4 separate regions of the Homo sapiens genome follow, and all the other regions are linked to region 3. Evidence: promoter capture Hi-C in 16 types of primary human blood cells and fetal thymus (Javierre and others, 2016). All regions are on one chromosome and are shown on one strand. Each heading gives the region's core, a stretch centred on a gene start or on the middle of the fragment in contact. The rest is flanking DNA. Distances are from core to core; before and after follow the strand shown. Region 1 overlaps DENND4C (DENN domain containing 4C). Region 2 overlaps DENND4C (DENN domain containing 4C). Region 3 holds the start of HAUS6 (HAUS augmin like complex subunit 6). Region 4 overlaps DENND4C (DENN domain containing 4C).

Region 1 (4,774 bases), core at 610-3,109, 200 kb after region 3:
ATATTCCCCTTTGTCCTCTTTCACTGGCTGCAGTGCTTAGTGCACCTTTACCATTTATAGTTGGAGTTGACTCAAGGTATTTTGATCTTCATGACCCACCACAAGATGTTGTTTGCATTGACTTGGATACGAACATGTTATATGTGTAAGTTGATTCATTTTATATTATCTCCCATTTATATTTTTCACTATGTAGAGTTACAGTTCTTTGAAAGCATCTAGAAATATGCTATTTTTGGTAGTTGTTAAATCTTCGTCTTAAATACAGCAGCTCTCAACCAGGGCAGGTATCAGAATCTGGGAATGCTGTGTGATTTGGGAAAAAAAAATGTTCAGTATTATAATAGTTTATATTTGGGTAACAATATTAAATGTAAGCAGGAGATATTTATGTTTATCAGAAGAGACTATGAGTTGGAAAAGTAATGGTTAAACACTGCTTTCAGAGCTCAAGAGATGATATGCTTTCTGGGTTTAATTCAAAATCCATATGTAAGTAAAATGGGTTTACCCATTGGAGATAAAGTTTGGCTACAGTATAGGGTGATATTATACCATTTGCTTAGTTGTCGGGATTTTAATTTTATAAGGATCTGTTGTTTACTGCTTAGAAATTTATATTAAAAATCAGTGATAGTTTGTGTTTGCTGAAGGTGATAATTAAGTACAGCAGTGGTACAGCTGAGGGTTCAGAGAGTAGCAAACTACATTAATAAAAGAAATAGTTCTGGATGGATGTTTAAGGGTTACCACTTCCCCACCAAAAGTGGGAAAGGACAGTAAGTATTAAAAATGTTCTTATGTTGGTGCCAACTTCCAGGCCGTAGAACGCTTTTATTCTTTACTGTTTGAGATTGGTAGAAAATGAAGAGAGAAATATTTTGGGTAAGGCCTGAATAGTTCCAACAGTAGAATTCGTTGGGAAAATATTTTTATGTGAACCAAAAAAATAACCTAAGGGAGGAAGAAAACATTTGCTATAACTTAAAATATAATTTTGACATGGATCTACCATTGTATTTTGAAACTGTATAGCTATAGTGGCTCCTTATGTATATTTAGATTTACTTACAGCTTGAAAGTAATGAACAACTTGCATGAATTAGTTTTTTGTAGCACACATTTTATTGTTTGTAGGCTACTCTCCCTGAAAAACAATTATTTCAGGAATGTATTCATTGTGGTACTTTTAGAAATGATTATTTGTGAAGTTAATACTCAGATTTTTTACCTTATTTTATTTTTATTCTGAATAAAATAATATGGAGATTCTTAATTTTGCGCAGTTTTGAGTAACTTTTATAAAACTTCTGGTAATCAAAACATTATTTTCTAAAATAAATGTGAAGTGTTTGCACAATTGTATTTATTTATTTATTTATTTATTTATTTATTTATTTATTTATTTATTTTGAGACAGAGTCTCACTGTGTTGCCCAGGCAACAGAGTTGCAGTGGTGCAATCCTGACTCTCTGCAGTCTCCGCCTCCTGGGATCAAGTGATTCTCCTGCCTCAGCCTTCCGAGTAGCGGGAATTAACAGGCGTGTGCCACCACACCTGGCTAATTTTTTTGTATTTTTAGTAGAGATGAGGTTTTACCATGTTGTCCAGGCTGGTCTTGAACTGCTGACCTCAGGTGATCCACCCACCTTGGCCTCCCAAAGTGCTGGGATTACAGGCATGAGCCACTGTGCCCGGCATGCTCAATTGTGTTTAAAGAATTATAAAATGTGCCCAGGTGTAGTGTCTCACACCTTTAATCTCAGTACTTTCGGAGGCTGAGGCAGGAGGATCACTTGAGCCCAGGAGTTTAAGGCCAGCCCGGGCAACTTGGTGAGACTCCATCTACATAAAATAAAAAATTAGCTAGGAGTGGTGGTGCGTGCCTGTAGTCCCAGCTACACAGGCAGCTGAGGAGGAAAGATCACTGTAGTCCAGGAGGTCGAGGCTGCAGTGACCCATGTTGACCCACTGCACTGCAGCCTGGGTAACAGAGCAAGACTCTGTCTCAAAAAAAAAAAAAAAAAAAAGAAGAAATACCTCCAAATTATACAGAATAATGTAAATAACTTGTATCTATTCACCACAACTTTATTAAGAAATAGGCCGGGCACAGTGGCTCATGCCTGTAATCCCAGCACTTTGGGAGGCCGAGGCAGATGGATCACCTGAGGTCAGGAGTTCAAGACCACCCTGGCCAACATGGTGAAACTCCGTCTCTACTAAAAACACAAAAATTAGCCAGGCATGGTGGTGGGCGCCTGTAATCCCAACTACTCGGGAGTCTGAGGCAAGAGAATTGCTTGAACTGAGGAGGTGGAGGTTGCAGTGAGCGGAGATCATGCCATTGCACTCCAGCCTGGGCGACAGAGCGAGACTCTGTCTCAAAAAAAAAAAAAAAAAGAAAATATTAGCAATAAATCTGAAATCCCTAGATAGTCCTCCACAACCATATTTTGCTCCTTTCTCCCAGAGAGGAGCTCCAGATCCAACCATCATCTTGGATAAACTCCAAATCCAACCATCATCTTAGATTTGGAGTTTATCACATACATGTATTTTTCAAACATTTATTATATATATATTAATCTAAATAAAATTTTGTTTTGCATACTTATAAATTTTTTTCTACTTGAATAGTTTTCTGTGAATTACTTTTTTGCTCACCATTCTTTGTGAGGTTCATTCAGTTCATTTTCAACAGTGATCAATGTTGATGGACATCTAGGTTGTATCTAGATCTTTGATGTTAGGAACAAAGCTGTTCTGATCATCGTATATATTTCCTTGAGTATATGCTCAGGAATTCCTCTGAAGCATATACCTGGAAGCGCTAATGTTGCTTGGTAGGGAATGAGCATTTTCAACTTAATAGCTAATACCAGATTACTCTCCCAAGTTTACTCCGTCCTCAGCAGATGAGAGTTCTCTTTGTTTCATATCTTTGCCAACACTTGTGGTGACTTTTAAATTTTTTACCAATTTGATGGTAATGGTATTTCACTGTGGCTTTAATTCACATTTCCTTTATTAGTAGCAAATGGAGGATTTTCATATCTTTGTGCCCCTTGGTTTTCCTCTCCTGTGAATTGGATGTTCCTTTTGTTGGTACATTTTCCTGTTAGATTGTTTGTCTTTTTCTTTTGATTTGTAGAAATTGTATATATAATCTGGAATTAATTCTTTGTCTGCTGTATGCATTCCAGATAGCTTCTCCCACATTGTGACCTGTCATTCCATTGTGTTTATGGTATCTTTTGATAAACAGGGGCTCATCTTAATTTATCAAATTTATTAATTTCTCTTTATGGAGTACTGTTTTTGGTTCTTGTATATGAGATATTTTGCCTTGAGGCCATGAAATACTATCATGGTTATTTCTTAAGTTGTGAGGTTTGCCTCTCTCATTTAGTTATTTAATTCAGCTAAACTTGATGTGACATATCAGTTTCTACATTTGTATAAATATGTATCTGGGCTAATTCTTTTCCTTTGATTTGCTTCAATCTCTTGCCAGTATTATACTGTCTTAATGGCTTTAAAATTAAGTTGTCTACAACATGAATGAACCTTGAAAACATTATGTTAAAAGACCTTATATTATAATTCAATGAAATGTCCAAAGCAGACAAATCTCTAGAGGTAGAAAGTAGATTGATTAGTGATTGCCTTGGAATGAAGAGGATGGGAGTATTGGAAGCTAAGTGACTATGGGATTTCTTTTTGAGGTGATAAAAATATTCTAAAATTGCTTGTAGGCCGGGAGTGGTGGCTCACGCCTGTAATCCCAGTACTTTGAGAGGCTGAGACGGGTGGATCTCCTGGGGTCGGGAGTTTGAGACCAGCCTGACCAACATGGAGAAACCCCATCTCTACTAACAAAACAAAACTAGCCGGGCATGGTGGTGCATGCCTGTAATCCCAGCTATCCGGGAGGCTGAGGCAGGAGAATTGCTTGAACCCAGGAGGCAGAGGTTGCAGTCAGTTGAGATCGTGTCATTGCACTCCAGCCTGGGCAATAAGAGCAAAACTCCATCTCAAAAAAAAAAAAAAAATTGATTGTAGTGGTGGTTACACAATTCCGTGAATATGATAAAAACCATTGAATTGCACAGGTCAAATGTGTGAATTGTATGGTGTATGAATTTATATCTTAATAAAACTGTTTTAAAAAGTCATGGTATGAGACTTTTTTTTTGGCAATGTCCATGGTGAATCCCCTTACTCCTGTTCTTTTTAAAAATTGTTTTGACTCTATTTGGTCTTTTGTTTTTCCATGTAAATTTTAATACCATCTTATTAAGCTCCACACAAAATTACATTGGGATTTTTGTTAGAATTTTTTTTTTTACCTTTTAAATTTTTTTTAATTGATATCGTAATTGTATATATTTATGGGGTGCAATGTGATGCTTTGGTGTATGTATACATCATGGAATGTTTACCTGAAGTGGTTAATATATATTGTATTTATAGATTCGTTTGGAGGCAGATGATACCTTTTTGACACACGTTGAAAATATGCACAAGAAATATGACCCATGAATGTGATATTTCACTTCATTGGTCTTTTCAGAATTTTTTGGTGAACTTTGTGTTTTCTCCAGAAAGATAATTCACATCTTTTGTTAGACTTATTTATTCCTAAGTATCTTTCAGTTTTTATTGCTACTGTAGATGGTATTTTAAATTAGACTTTCTACTTGTTGCTAGGAAATGTAGTTGATTTTTATATAGTGGTCTTATATCTAGCAACTTAGTTGAATTCCTTTT
Region 2 (4,863 bases), core at 1,609-4,108, 220 kb after region 3:
AGGGGCTGGAATCCTGAAGTCATGTGATGGTTTGTCCTTAGATAGGAGGAGGGACATATCCACTGTAAAAAGGCAGAAGGAATAAAGGATAGCTGTTAAAGAGTCATAAATTATGTAGTGAGATAGTGTACATAGTTTCTATTTAATGATCTGCATTTTCATTGCACTGAAGTATGCTCATTTCGGGGTGCGGAGGGGGCACAAAAAACATGAAGGGAGAGCGCATACAAATTGGAAATAGTTGTGAAAACATGTGAAGAGGAAAATTAAATTGATTCCAGAAATGTAGTAGGGTTGTTGGTGAGGGATGAAGGTATAAGTGCTTCTGATCTGCCTAGTTGTGGAACTTTTTTTCCCCTTAACTTGTGCTCAGCCACCCTAATGCAGATCCAGAGAAGGCAAGTAGTACATTCCTCCAGAGCTGGGTTATGCTAGGTAGGTTTAACCAAAAAGACAAAAGAGCAGAGGGGTTGAGAGTATTGACAAAACAGTAATTGAAATGATGGATATAGCATGGAATCAGTATTGGACGGAGAAAGAAGTGAAGATGGGAGGATGTACATAGAAGTAAAAGGGCCAGTGGAGGCCAGGCGCGGTGGCTCAGGCCTGTAATCCCCGCACTTTCGGAGGCCGAGGTGGGCGGATCACGAGGTCAGGAGATGGAGACCATCCTGGCTAACACAGTGAAAAATTAGCCAGGCGTGGTGGCGGGCGCCTGTAGTCCCAGCTTCTCAGGAGGCTGAGGCAGGAGAATGGCATGAACCCGGGAGGCAGAGCTTGCAGTGAGCCAAGATTGACTGCACTCCAGCCTGGGCAATACAGTGAGACTTCATCTCAAAAAAAAAAAAAAAAAAAATAAGGGGGCCAGTGGATTGGAGATTTCCATGAGCCTTCCCTCTCTGCTCCCTGCACAAAAAACCCAAAAAACCCTAAAACACTTAGTAGAAATACTTAATTAAGGAGACCAGATAGGCAGAGCTAATGGGCTGGGAGTGATGTGAAAAAGAGATTTGAGAGGCAATGTTGTTTTGAATGCTGGCAAGGAAAGTCAAGGGACTGTGACTGTGTGTTGAAGTTGGTGATTGAGGTAGGATGGAGCATAGGATCACTGAAAATCAAGGAATGAAGGCTGGGCATGATGGCTCATGCCTGTAATTCTAGCACTTTGGGAGGCTGAGATGGGAGGATCACTTGAGGCCAGGAATTCGAGACCAGCCTTGTCAACATAGCAAGACACCCATCTCTTAAAAGAAAAGAGGCTAGGTGCAGTGGCTCACGCCTGTAATCCCAGAACTTTGGGAGGCCAAGGCGGGCTGATCACCTGAGGTCCGTTCAAGACCAGCCTGGCCAACATGGTGAAACCGTCTCTACTAAAAATACAAAAATTAGCCAGTCGTGGTGATGGGCACCTGTAATCCCAGCTACTCAGGAGGCTGAGGCAGGAGAATCACTTAAACCTGGGAGGCAGAGGTTGCAGTGAGCCAAGATCACATTACTGCACTCCAGCCTGGGCGACAGAGCTAGACTCTGTCTGGAAAAAAAAAAAAAAAGGAATGAAGAAGAATCTAAAGTGTTTTCATGGTTTGTGCTTCTGGGTGTGGAAGAATGATGGTGGTAGGAATTAGAAAGGAGGAGACCTTGAATCAGATGCCTTGGTCTTCAGTGAATGAAGGAGTGTCCCTGAAATCAATAGATGTCTACGATTAATAGAGGAAATTGTGGAATAGTCAGATGCTTGAAACTTTAATGAGCAGAAATTTTAAAAACACAATACAGAAATAATGGTCTTGCAACATTAAAGAGGAAGGACATTGACTCTTTGGAAATTGACCATGGACTCAAGAGTATGCAGAGTATCAGAGAAATTTCTACTTAAAAGTTGTAGAGCTGGAGGTTCCTTATAGGGGATTTAGATTTCAGTGAAGAGTTTGATAGAAGTATTTTTCGTGGTTTAATTAGGCAGAAGGAGCTATATATGCAGTTACCACAGGTTGAGCTTCCCTAATCTAAAAATCCAAAACCTGAGATGCTGCAGAATCTGAAACTTTCTGAGGGCTGACATTATGCCACAAGTGGAAAATTCTACACGTAAGTACTTAACACACACTTTGTTTCATGCACAAGATCATTGAAAATATTGTATAACATTCCCTTCAGACTGTGTGTATAATGTATATGTGAAACATAAATGAATTTCCTGTTTACTTGGGTCTCATCCCCAAGATATGTGATTGTGCACATGCAAATATTTCAAAATCTTAAAAAAAAAAATCCGAAATCTGAAACACTTTTGGTCCCAAGCATTTCAGATAAGAGATACTCAACCTATAGAAGCTTCTTTTTAAATATGGATATATATATGTATATATAAAGAGAATGTAATATAGATAAGTACAAGTTTAATGTTTCCTATAATATCGAATTCCAGTTTAAAATTTGAATTTAATTATATTTTGTTTTCCTCAGGATTTTTAAAAAGTCGAGATCGTGCCTATGCAAAATTCTATACCCTTTTATCCAAAACACAGATTTTTATTCGTTTCATTGAAGAATGCAGTTTTGTAAGTGATAAAGATACTGGATTAGCATTTTTTGATGACTGCATAGAAAAGGTAAAAGTTTGTACTTATACTAGTGTTTAGAAAAAAAAGTTTGCCTTACCTGTGTAATTATCATTGTTATTGTTAGTCTAGAGTGATATAAGGAAAACAGAGTAGGGTTGTGTATGTGTGTGTATGTGTTACCGATTCTGGGCTGAATATATGAATAAAATTCTTTGTGGTTTCAAGTTTCTACCACATATAGCCAATTTTTCTATTCTTTATTCATTGATCCATTGATTGAAACAGCATCTCATTCTGTTACCCAGGCTAGGGTGCAGTGGCATGATCATAGCTCATTGCAACTTTGAACTTCTTGCCTGAAGTGATTTTACCACCTTAGCCTTCTGAGTAGCTGGGACTACAGGCATGTGCTACGCCCAGCTAGTTTTTTTAATTTTTGGTAGAGATGAGGTCTCACTGTATTGCCCAGGCTGGTCTCAAACTCCTGGGCTCAAGTGATCCTCCCGCCTTGGCCTCCCAAATCCTTGGGATTGCAGGATGAGCCGCCATGCCCAGCCAGTAAATTTTCTCTTTAAATCTCACTTTCGTTTTACAACTATTGAGTTGTAAAACTAAGAACATTTTCTTGAGCCTTGTGAGTTTATATTTTTTTAATTTAAATGAATAAGATTTAGTTTAAGATTTAGGTTTTTTAATTAAAAAATGTTTAGTTTTATGGGTAATAGAAGTTCTATGTTCTTTTGTTTTAATGTCTTTCCAGATTCTTTTGCCTAATATGTTTCTTTTGTTCTAATGGAGGGTGGAAATACGTTAAATTTTAAAGCTTTACCCACCCATCCTAAGGAAGTTAAAATTGATTCTTGACTTAGTTATAATTTTTCCTAACTTTTAATATAATTCTTATTTTTGCTAAGTAGATCTTGGGGCCAATTGTTTATGCAAACTGTATATTATATAACATTTGAGATTGTATCCAAAAAAAGTTGAATATTATGACATTAATTTTTATGGCCCCCTCATGATTCATATGCCTTAGAAGATTTAAATAATTTTCTCCTATCAGTGTGATCCAAAATTCCAGGGATATAATTAAAACTATTCAACATTTTTGTTTATTTACAAAATTGATATTCCAGTATCTTCCAGTTATATGAGAAGTTTAATGTCAATCACTAATAAAGGGGCTTAATAATAATGAAATTTTTTATTTGAGAAGCCAGATAACCTTGTGATTGGTCATCTTTTGTCTTAAGGTTTACAAAACAACTAATCAAAATAGTTTTCTATCCTAATAGCCACAAGTAAAAAATTATGCTTTAGCCTAAGAGTATGTATTCAGCCTAAAAATATACTGTGCATGTTTTGTATCAGCTGGTACTGAAAAGGGGTAGTTTTTTTCTAAATCAGAATGTAAGATAAAAATGTCTATTAAATTCATAGTGGACATTTTCATTAAGAATCTGTTTTCTTTTTTTCTAGTTGTTTCCTGATAAAGGCACAGAGAAAACAGATAAGGTATGTTTTTCTTAGATTTTAAGGGTTGAAATTTCAGAATTAGATCTTGTTTGTATGCAAATTAATTGGGGAAAAATAATGATTTTCAGGTTGATTTTGATTCAGCAGAAGATACCAGATTGATAGAACTAGATGATTCACAGAAAAGTGAGCATACTGTATTTATAATGCCGCCAGAGCCACCTCCTGATGATGGAAAGGACCTGTCACCAAAGTACAGGTAGTAGGAAGTTTTAAAAGAGCTTAATGGCACAGCCTATCAGTTTCTTTTAATTTTTATTAGTAGATATGTATATTAGTCTTTTGTGAAACTCATTTTCAGTATTAGTTCAGTGAACTAATGTAGATAAATATTTTATGGAAATGCCACTAGGTGTTATAATTTAAGAATTGGATGGTATTGTCAGATGTTGATCATTGTTTACCTTAGTGTTTGTATTTTAATCTTTAAAAGTTTCAATTCTGAAGAAGAAAAATGATACTTTTATGAGGCTCCCTGCTCCCTTTGGGAGTTTCATTTTGAAACAAAGACTGTGAAATTCTTATGAATTAGTAATTTACCAAGAAAACTTAAGGTAGAGGGCCAGGAATTTATTCTTTATTAAGATAAAGGATAGGATTTGGATGTGACTCTTTTAAGAAATTAGAATGGATTTTGTAGTTTTTTTATTGCTATAAATTTAATAAACTTAGAAAATCAAACCAAAATGGAAAACTAATACATCATTCTAGCACCAATACTTGTGTCTCTTAACAATTGTAGGTATGTATGTATCATGTGGAT
Region 3 (4,817 bases), core at 2,054-4,553:
ATTAACAGGTGTGAACCACCATGCCTAGCCTAATTGCATTTTTAAGAGACAGGGTCTCACTATGTTGCCCAGGCTGGTCTCAAATTTCTGGCCTCAAGCAATCTCCCACCTCAGCCTTCTGAGTAGCTGGATTTACAAATGCATCGAGCAATTTTAAAAGTAACTTTGGCAGGGTGCAGTGGCTCATGTCTGTAATCCCAGCACTTTGGGAGGCTGACGCGGGAGGATCACTTAAGCCCAGAGGGTCAAGACCAGCCTCCACAACACAGTGAGAACCCATCTCTACAAAAAGAATAGAATTAAACTTAGCTGCCCAGGTGTGGTGGCTCAGGCCTATAATCCCAGCACTTTGGGAGGCCAAGGCAGGTGGATCACAAGGTCAGGAATTTAAGATTCCGCCTGGCTAAGATGGAGAAACCCGGTCTCTACTAAAAATACAAAAAAATTAGCCAGGCGTGGTGGCAGGCGCCTGTATTCCCAGCTACTCAGGAGGCTGAGGCAGAGAATTGCTTGAACCAGGGAGGCGGGGGTTGCAGTGAGTCCAGATCGCACCACTGCACTCCCGCCTGGGCGACAGAGCAAGACTCCATCTCAAAAAAAAAAGAATTAAAACTAGCCAGGCGTGGCAGCAGGCACCTGTAATTCCAGCTATTCGGGAGGCTGAAGTGGAAGGAAGGATCGCTTGAGCCCAGGAGATGGAGGCTGCAGTGAGCCACATTCAGGCCACTGCACTCCAGCCTGAGAGACAGAGCCAGACTATCTCAAAAAATAAAAACAAAAAAGTAAATTTAATGCCACATCCATGTTGAAAGCATTTAAAGTGGACATGTGTTACAAGATGGTGGATCCTGCAGAGAAAAGGGAATGCTTGTACTTTGTTGGTGGAATGTAAAGTAGTACAGCCATTATGGGAAACCATAGGCTCCTTAAAAAACTAAAAATAGAAGTACCCTATGATCCAGCAATCCCACTGCTGGGTATATATCCAAAAGGAAGGAGATCAGTATATGAAAGAGGCATCTGCACTCCCATGTTTAGTGACACATTATTCACAATAGTCGAGATACAGAATCAACCTAAGTTGAATGGATAAAGAAAACAGATGAATGGATAAAGAAATTGTGGTATATATACACAATGGAATATTATTCAGCCACACAAAAAGAAGAAAATCCTGTCATCTGCAGCAACATGGATGGGACTGGAGGTCATTATCTTAAGTAAAATAAACCAGGCACGGAAAGACAAATATCACATGTTCTCACATGTGAAAGCAAAAAAAGTGGACCTCATGGAGGTAGGGAGTAGAATGGTGGTTAACACAGTCTAGGAAAGGAAAAGGAGAGAAGGAGGGAGGAAGAGAAGTTGATTAATGGGTACAAATATACAGTTAGATAGAAGGAATAAGTTCTAGTGTTCAATAGTACATAAGTGAAACTATAGTTAAAAATAATTTATTGTGTATTTTAAAATAGCTAGAAAAGAACTGAAATGTTTCCAACACAAAGGAAAGATAAATGTTTGAGATGATGGCTATCCCATTTATCCTGATCTGATCCTTATACATTGTATAAGTGTATCAAAATATCAAAATTTTATATCCCCAAAATATGTACAACTATGAACATAAATAAAACAGGCCAGGCTCGGTGGCTCACATCTGTAATCCCAGCACTTGGAGTGGCCAAGGCGGGGGGATTGCTGGAGGCCAGGAGCTCAAGACCAGCCTGGGCAACATGCCGACCCTAGGCATGGTGCCACGCACCTGTAGTCCCAGCTACTCAGGAGGGTGAAGTGGGAGGATCGCCTGAGCCCAGGAGTTGGAGGCTGCAGTGAGCTGTGATCGCACAACTGCACTCCAGACTGGGCGACAGAGTGGGAGACCCTGTCTCAAAACAAAAAACAATGGCTCATATCTATAATCCCAGCACTTTGGAAGACCGAAGCAGGAGGATTGCTTGAGCCCAGGAATTTTGAGACCAGCCTGGGCAACATGGTTAGCTACTGTCTCTAAAATAATAATACTTTAAAAAAATAGAGGCCGGGCACGGTGGCTCACGCCTGTAATCCCAGCACTTTGGGAGGCCGAGGCAGGTGGATCATGAGCTCAGGAGATCGAGACCATCCTGGCCAACATGGTGAAACCCCGTCTCTACTAAAGATACAAAAATTGGTTGGGCGTGGTGGCAAGTGCCTGTAATCCCAGCTACTCGGGAGGCTGAGGCAGGAGAATCGCTTGAACCAGGGAGTTGGAGGGTGCAGTGAGCCGAGATCGTGCCACTGCACTCCAGCCTGGCAACAGAGGGAGACTCCATATGAAAGAAAAGAATTCCTCTTGGCCTACAGTGGGAATGATTAAATAGAGATACTGGCTAAAGTTGATAAAACAGAAGTGGAAAAAGTAGGGAAGGGGCTTTTACTTTCCATACTTTTCTTAAAAGGGTATTTGTTTTTAATACCCTTCTCCGTTGTTTTATGCTAACTCCAACATGCCTTACTAATTAAAAAATTAAAAATTATAAAATTAAACAACCACCTTCAAAGGCTCCCTTGAGTCCAAAAGGTGTTTTGTACATATGGTTCCCATGCTCTTCCACTACCACCCGCCATCCCTCCCACTACTTCACAGACCACCCCTCCACCACATAGGCAGAGTTAAGCTGCTCCTCCAGTCTTGCACTCTCCCCATCTGCAGACTTTTGCACTCCCCTACAGAGCGCTTCCGGCACTCTTGCATTATTTACTGTCTGTCTCTGCCCCTAGGCTGGCAGCAACTGGGAGTAGGAACTTTGGAGCCAATGCCTGGCACAGAGTAACTGCTCAACCAATTCTGATTAATCAACCTCCGGGGTCTACAAAAGGGGGAGTCCCCCGGCGTCCCCCGGTTCAGGCTCCCTCGCCCCGCCGGCCCCGGCCTCCTTACACTCCGAGGTGCGTGTGCGACACGATCTTTCCGCAGGCAATGGTTGCCGGGCCTGGCTCGAAGCCGAGCGCCTGCAGATACATCCAGAGATGCTCCTTCTCGAAAGCGGTGACCGAGGCCGAGCTCATCCTCGCGGTAGGCACGGTGGCTGCAAAGAAAGAAAGCGCAAGCCCAGGGGACTCGGAGGGCCCTCAAGATCCCTCCCTACGGTCAGCCTGAGGTCGCGGTGGTCCTTCCATTGCCAACGCCTGCTCCTTTCACGCCCAGAGCGATTTCGCCTCAAAGGGCCTCACAACCTCCGGGAAATTGAGTTTCTAACGGTATAGTGCGGCCACCACTGCCTCAGCGAAGCCACCACAAACCGAGACTCCCGCCCTTAAGGAAGAGCAGTGTGCGCCGGCGCCGCCAGGCGTCCGAGGGAGGAGGGACTTCCGGCAAAGACTATATCTCCCGCCATGCAATGCGTCCTTCTCTCCTCCCTTCCGGCCATGCCCAGCCAAGAAACTGCAAGACCCACCGGGCATTGCGCGGCCAGCGACTTGCTCTGCGCTTGCTTAACCGCTGTCGTGCCCAGATCCTCGGGCCTTCGGGTTTCTGATTCTTGGTTAGTGGGGTCCATTTGCTTGTGTATCCTAGTTGTTACGTCACAAAAAAGCCATAAATGGAGCACTATGCCTCGGTGTAGAGTTAAAGCATTGGTTCCATCCTCCGCTATGCTCACTGTGACTCTAATCAAGTCACGTAATCTCTGAGCCTCATTTCTGTCGTTAGCGAAATCTATGTCCTCAAATGCCGGATGTTCCTTTTCCTGCTTTAAATGAAATCTGGCTCTATACTCCCCTGCAGTCCTGCAGTCTTTTTTTTTTTTTTTTTTTTTTTTGAGACGGGGTTTCGCTCTTGTTGCTCAAGTTGGGGTGCAGTGACGCGATTTCGGCTCACTGCAACCTCCGCCTCCCGGGTTCAAGCGATTCTCCTGCCTCAGCCTCCCGAGTAGCTGGGATTAACAGGTGTCCGCCACCACGCCCGGCTAATTTTTTTGTATTTTTAATGGAGACGGGGTTTCACCATGTTGGCTGGCTGGTCTCGAACTCCTGACCTCAGGTTATCTGCCGGTCTTGGCCTCCCAAAGTGCTGGGATTACAGGCGTGAGCCACTGCGCCTGGCCGCCTGCAGTCCTCTTAATTTTTTTTTTTTTTTTTTTTTTTTTTTTGAGACGGAGTCTAGCTCTGTCTCCCAGGCTGGAGTGCAGTGGCGCAATCTCGGCTCACTGCAAGCTCCGCCTCCCAGGTTCACGCCATTCTCCTGCCTCAGCCTCCCGAGTAGCTGGGACTACAGGCTCCCACCACCACGCCGGGCTAATTTTTTGTATTTTTAGTAGAGACGGGGTTTCACCCTGTTAGCCAGGATGGTCTCGATCTCCTGACCTCGTGATCCGCCCTCCTCGGCCTCCCGAAGTGCTGGGATTATAGGCGTGAGCCACCGCACCCGGCCCGTCGTCTTAATTGACAGCTGTTGCCTACCACAAACCCCACTGACAACAGGGCCTGGAAGTGGATTGGGTAACCTGCTTTTAAGTCTCATTGCTACCTCTGGCAATGATTGTCTCCTGCCTCACTAAAATCACCTTAATAAAAGAGAGAGAGGCGGGGCACAGTGGCTCACGCCTATAATCCCAGCACTTTGGGAGGCCAAGGTGGGCGGATCACCTGAGGTGGGGAGTTCGAGACCAGCCTGACCAACATGTAGAAACCCCGTCTCTACTAAAAATACAAAATTAGCCGGGCGTGGTAGCGCATGCCTGTAATCCCAGCTCAGCTACTCGGGAGGCTGAGGCAGAAGAATCGCTTGAACCCGGGAGGCAGACGTTGCAGTGAGCCAAGATCCTTCCACTGCA
Region 4 (5,151 bases), core at 560-3,059, 180 kb after region 3:
TGTAATAATACTTAGTTTAAAACACTTACCATACAGCTGTACAAAAATATTTTTCTTTCTTTAAATCCTTATTTTATTAAGTTTTTTTGTATTTTAAAATTTTATTTTAAAAATTTATTCTTTTATTTTTTATTTTTTGAGACAGGGTCTCACTTTGTTGCCCAGGCTGGAGTGTAGTGGTATAGTCTAGGCTCACTGCAGCCTCCACCTCCTGGGCTCAGGCGATAATCCTTTCACCTCAGCTTCCTGAGTAGCTGAACTACAAGTGTATGCCACCACTCCTGGCTAATTTTCTTTTTGTAGAGATGGGGTTTCGCCTTGTTGCCCAGGCTGCTCTGGAACACCTGAGCTCAAGTGATCTGCTTGCCTTGGCCTCCCAAAGTGCTGGGATTACAGGCATGTGCCACCACGCCTGGCAAAAATTAAAAAAAAAAAAAAAATAATGGGGTCTTGCCTTGTTGCCCAGGCTGGCATTGCACTCCTAGGCTCAAGTGATCCAGCCTCAGCCTGCTGAATAGCTGGCACTAGCTTGGTTTTTAAACTTTATTTTTTGTTTTTCTTTTTCTTTTTTTCTTCTCTCTTTTTTTTTTTTTTTTTTTGAGACAGAGTCTCACTCTGTCTTCCAGGCTGGAGTGCAGTGGTATGATTGGGGCTCACTACAATCTCTGCTTCCTGGGTTCAGGTGATTCTCCTGCCTCAGCCTCTGGAGTAGCTGCGATTACAGGCATCTGCCACCACACCTGGCTAATTTTTTTTTATTTTCAGTAGAGACAGGGTTTCACCATATTGGCCAGGCTGGTTTTGAACTCCTGACCTCAAGTGATCCACCCATCTTGACCTCCCAAAGTGCTGGAATTACAGGCGTGAGCCACCGCCTCTGACCAGTTTTTATTTTCTTATTTTGAAATTTTTTGCAAAGATGAGGTCCTCCTATGTTGCCCAGGCTGTTCTTGAACTCCTGGCCTCAAGCAATTCTGCATTGGCCCCTTAAAGTGCTGGGATTATAGATATGAACTACTGTGCCTGGATTTTTTTTTTTAACTGTTTAAACTATTTTGTTAAAATTTAAGACAAAAAGACACATGTTAGCCTAGCCCTACAGAGTCAGGATCATCACTATCTCTGCCTTCCATCGCCACATCTTGTCCCACTGGAAGGTCTTCAGGGCAGTAACCCACATAGAGCTGTCTTCTATGATAAGAATGCCTTCTGGAATACCTCCTGAAGGACCTGCCTGAGACTGTTTTACAGTTAACTTTTTTTGTAAGTAGGAATATACTCTAAAGTAATGATAAAAGGTATAGTATTGTAAATACTAGGTGATAAGAATTTCTCAGCTCCATTATAATCTATGGCACCACCATAGTATATGCAGTCTGTGCTTGCATCATCATTATGTGGTGCATGATTGTATAGTATAATTTAAACAGGGCAGTATGTTATCTTATATATCAGATGCATTTCTTTTTTCTTTCTTTTTTTTTTTTTTTTTTGAGACAGAGTTTCGTTCTTGTTGCTCAGGCCAGAGTGCAATGACCCGATCTTGGCTCACTGCAACTCCGCGCCCCCTCACCCCCACCCCCGCCAGTAGCTGGGACTACAGGCACCTGCCACCATGCCAGGCTAATTTTTTATTTTTAGTAGAGACGGTGTTTTTCCATGTTGGTCAGGCTGGTTGCGAACTCCCAACCTCAGGTGATCCGCCCACTTCTGTCTCCCAAAGTGCTGGGATTATAGGCGTGAGCCACTGCGCCCGCCCAGATGCATTTCTTGAGACACAGAATCATAGACCATACGAAGTTCTTATTTTCTTCCCTTTGTCAGATTCATTGGCTTTCAACTGATTTGTTTCTCCAGTTCTTTTGTTTTTTGAGAAATTTCAAACATGTGAAAAGTTGATAAACTATTATAATACACAAGTATCCTTTTCTCCTAGATGATAGACTGTAGAATAATGAACAATATACTTGTCACCTACAAATTGACATTTTTTTTCATTTGTTTGCTAAGCTAATTGAAAGGAAGTGGGAGCCAGTGTGCCTAGCCTATTTCTTTCTCTTAAACAAAATGTAGATACTCTATACCCTATTTTGTACTTTGCCTTTTTCACCTAAGAGTATATACTGGCAATCACTCTGTATCTGAATATAAGATCTTCCTCATTTTTTGTGTGTGACTGTATAATACTTATTTGTGTGGATGTATTTACTTTATTCAATGAAACCTCTACTGATGGACATTTGGATTGTTCTCAGTTTTGTGCTATTAAAAGAATGCTTTGATGAATAACTGTGCATTTATTGTTATGTATTTGTGGAGGTGTGTTTTCAGGTAGATCCTAGAAAAAATTGCTGGATTAAAAGATAAATGTGTAAATAATTTTGTTAAATGTTACTAAATTTTTCTCTATAGTGTTTGTGCCATTTTATATTCTGCCATATATGTGTTTTTTTAATCCACATCCCATCAACAAAGTATGTGGTCTGACATATTTTTTGTCAATCTCACAGAGATTAATGGTGTATCAGAGTAATTTCATTGAGGTTAATCATTGCTCCATAAGTTTAAGGGGCGATTTTCTTTATTCTTTTGCTTATACTATAAACAGATTTTTAATCTTTACCTTGATTTTTTTAAAGGAAATTTTTTATGTGTTAGGAAGATGAGCTTTTTGTGAAATAAGTTGCCAAGTATTTTCTTCAGTCAACTTGTCTTTTATCTTGGCTTATGGTGTTCGTTGTCATGTAACGTTTATTTTATGTAGTTTATTTTTCTACTCCCATATTTTATTGGTACTGGATTTTGAGTCATAGTCTTTTCCCACTGCTAGATATACTTTTAGCACTAGTATGATTTAATTCCTTATGTTTAGATCTGTGATCCACCGGGGGATCCCCTTCTGGTGTGTAGTGTGAAGTATAGACAGAATTTTATTTTTTTCCAAATAATATTTTTTTCCAAATAACAATCCAGTTATCTAAGTCCTGCTTATTACATTTAAAAATCCATTCTTCCCTTAGTATATTGAGAAATTACCTTCATGATAGACTAGATTTTTCTTCTGTTTCATTGTCTTTCTGTTCACTTCCTTGCTAATACTCTCCTGATTTAAATAAAGAGGCTTTATAGTACATTTTAATATTAGTTGGGTTTTAACAGCTTTATGGAGATACAATTCACATGTCATACAGTTCACTTACTTAAAGTGTACAATTCAATGGTTTTTAGTATTGTTTACAGTGTTGTGCAGCTACCACCACAATTAATTTTAGAACATTTTCATCAGCCTAAAAAGAAACCCCATACCCATTAGCAGTTGCTATTTAGTATTCTTTCCCACCTTCTACCCCTAGGTAACTATTAATCTACTTTCTGTCTGTATGGATTTGCCTATTCTGGACATTTCTTAAAAACTGAATCACTGTATGTGGTCTTTGTGACTTTTTTTTTTTTTTTCACTTAACATGTTTAGCTGCTTGTGCTTTTGGTGTCATATCTAAGAAGGCTTTGTCTAACCTAAGGTCACAAAGATTTATTTCTGTTTTTCAAAGAGTGCTATAGTTCTTACATTGATTTTGATCCATTTTTAGTTTTTTGATGAGTAGTATAAGGAAGGGGTCCAGCTTCATGCTTTTGCAGGTGGATATCCAGTTATTCCAACACTACATATTGAAAAGACTATTCCTTCCTGATTGCATTGTCTTGGCACTCTTGTTGAAATCAATTGACTGCAAATATAAGGGCTTAATTTTGGACACTCCATTTTATTCTGTTGATCTATATGTTTATTCTTATGCCAATACATTGCACTGATTACTGTAGATGTGTGGTAGTTTTGAAGTAGGGAAGTGTGAGTCCTCCAACTTTCTTCTTTTTCCAGATTGCTTTGACAAGAAAAAACAAAAGCAGCTGGGGTTTAAATAGGAATTGCATTGAATTTATTGATCTATTTGAGGGTATTGCCAAAGGCAGCTGGAATTTAGATAGGAATTGCATTGACTTTATTAATCTATTTGGGGGTATTGCCATCTTATCAATTTTCATTAATTCATTTTTCAGTTTTCATTAATCAAATTGAAGATTGAATTAATCAGATTAATTCAATTTTCATTAATCTATTTGAGGGTATTGCCATCATTGTCTTTTTGTCCATAAGCATGAGATGTCTTATTTATTCAGCTCTTTAATTTCTTTAAATAACGTTTTATAGTTTTCAGAGGATTTTTAAAGCTAAAAAATTGACAAATTATGAAGCGAATTTTTATGAAAACATCTGAATACTTGGTGAAACTTCTAGGAATTGACCTGAAGATGTTTGTGGTGTTGCCCCTTTCTTTTTTCATATGTTTCTTATAATAAGCAATACAAAATCAAGTTGTTCAATCCTGTTTACACTTCTTAAATTATGTTTTGGCTTTTGAAAAATAGTTTAGAGACTTGTAGTTCCCAAAGGAATAATTTTAATTTTGGTTTCTAGTGAAGATTTGGGAAACAATAGGAGAGACCAAAAAAATTTTCTTTGATTTCAAGAAGAAAACCAGCATTAACCTGAAATGCATGTACTATATATATGTACATATGTATGTGTGTATGTATATATCTATATCTATTTCTTCCCCTTCCTGCCATGCAGAGTTCTATATGAAGGGAAAGAACGGCTTATTCCAGGATGTGAAGTGATCCTAGCCACACCCTATGGTCGCTGTGCCAATGTCAACAATAGTTCAACTACTTCACAAAGAATCTTTATCACTTATCGAAGGGCTCCTCCAGTTCGACCCCAGAATTCCTTGGCTGTAACTGATATCTGTGTTATTGTAACCAGTAAAGGAGAAACTCCTCCTCATACCTTCTGCAAAGTTGACAAAAACTTAAATTGTGGAATGGTAAGAATAAAGTTTTCATCTTCAAAGTTTCATATGAAACCAAAAAGGGATACGTTTTGGATTCCTGTTTACTGTTGGGTATATACTCACATTTTATATTTTCATGATGCTTGTTTTTATTTTTCCTAATTTTTATGATTTGTAATAATTTTTAAAGTCCTATCCCATGATTTATAATAATTTCATCTTTAAGTCAGGGATATTTTTGAGGGAGTAAATCCTAATATTGTCTGTGTTACATTAACAAAGGTTTTATTCACTTTTG

What was found. Contacts are between HindIII fragments. The CHiCAGO score rates a contact against its expected background, and 5 or more counts as called.
Region 1: a fragment that was not itself captured here is called in contact with the fragment with the promoter of HAUS6 in region 3 in 8 of 17 cell types (naive CD8 T cells, total CD8 T cells, erythroblasts and 5 more); the score reaches 9.1 in naive CD8 T cells.
Region 2: a fragment that was not itself captured here is called in contact with the fragment with the promoter of HAUS6 in region 3 in 14 of 17 cell types (erythroblasts, total CD8 T cells, total CD4 T cells and 11 more); the score reaches 13.9 in erythroblasts.
Region 4: a fragment that was not itself captured here is called in contact with the fragment with the promoter of HAUS6 in region 3 in 6 of 17 cell types (M0 macrophages, M2 macrophages, M1 macrophages and 3 more); the score reaches 15.7 in M0 macrophages.

Annotation. Positions count from the first base shown.
Region 1 is chr9:19,305,383-19,310,156 of GRCh38, forward strand. It overlaps DENND4C (DENN domain containing 4C), which reads left to right. Exons shown (of 33, transcript NM_001330640.2): 10 at 1-145. Among named protein-coding and RNA genes, the nearest start is that of RPS6, 72 kb to the right of the region's middle. The HindIII fragment of the contact is 6,309 bases long and covers 1-4,774 here.
Region 2 is chr9:19,321,896-19,326,758 of GRCh38, forward strand. DENND4C (DENN domain containing 4C) reads left to right here. Exons shown (of 33, transcript NM_001330640.2): 13 at 2,467-2,612; 14 at 4,044-4,079; 15 at 4,169-4,299. Among named protein-coding and RNA genes, the nearest start is that of RPS6, 56 kb to the right of the region's middle. The HindIII fragment of the contact is 1,053 bases long and covers 2,333-3,385 here.
Region 3 is chr9:19,099,601-19,104,417 of GRCh38, forward strand. HAUS6 (HAUS augmin like complex subunit 6) reads right to left here and starts at 3,304. Exons shown (of 17, transcript NM_017645.5): 1 at 2,924-3,304. The coding sequence starts at 3,051. RefSeq lists an enhancer at 2,983-3,546. The HindIII fragment of the contact is 8,228 bases long and covers 1-4,817 here.
Region 4 is chr9:19,282,136-19,287,286 of GRCh38, forward strand. It overlaps DENND4C (DENN domain containing 4C), which reads left to right. Exons shown (of 33, transcript NM_001330640.2): 3 at 4,634-4,886. Among named protein-coding and RNA genes, the nearest start is that of DENND4C, 54 kb to the left of the region's middle. The HindIII fragment of the contact is 9,952 bases long and covers 1-5,151 here.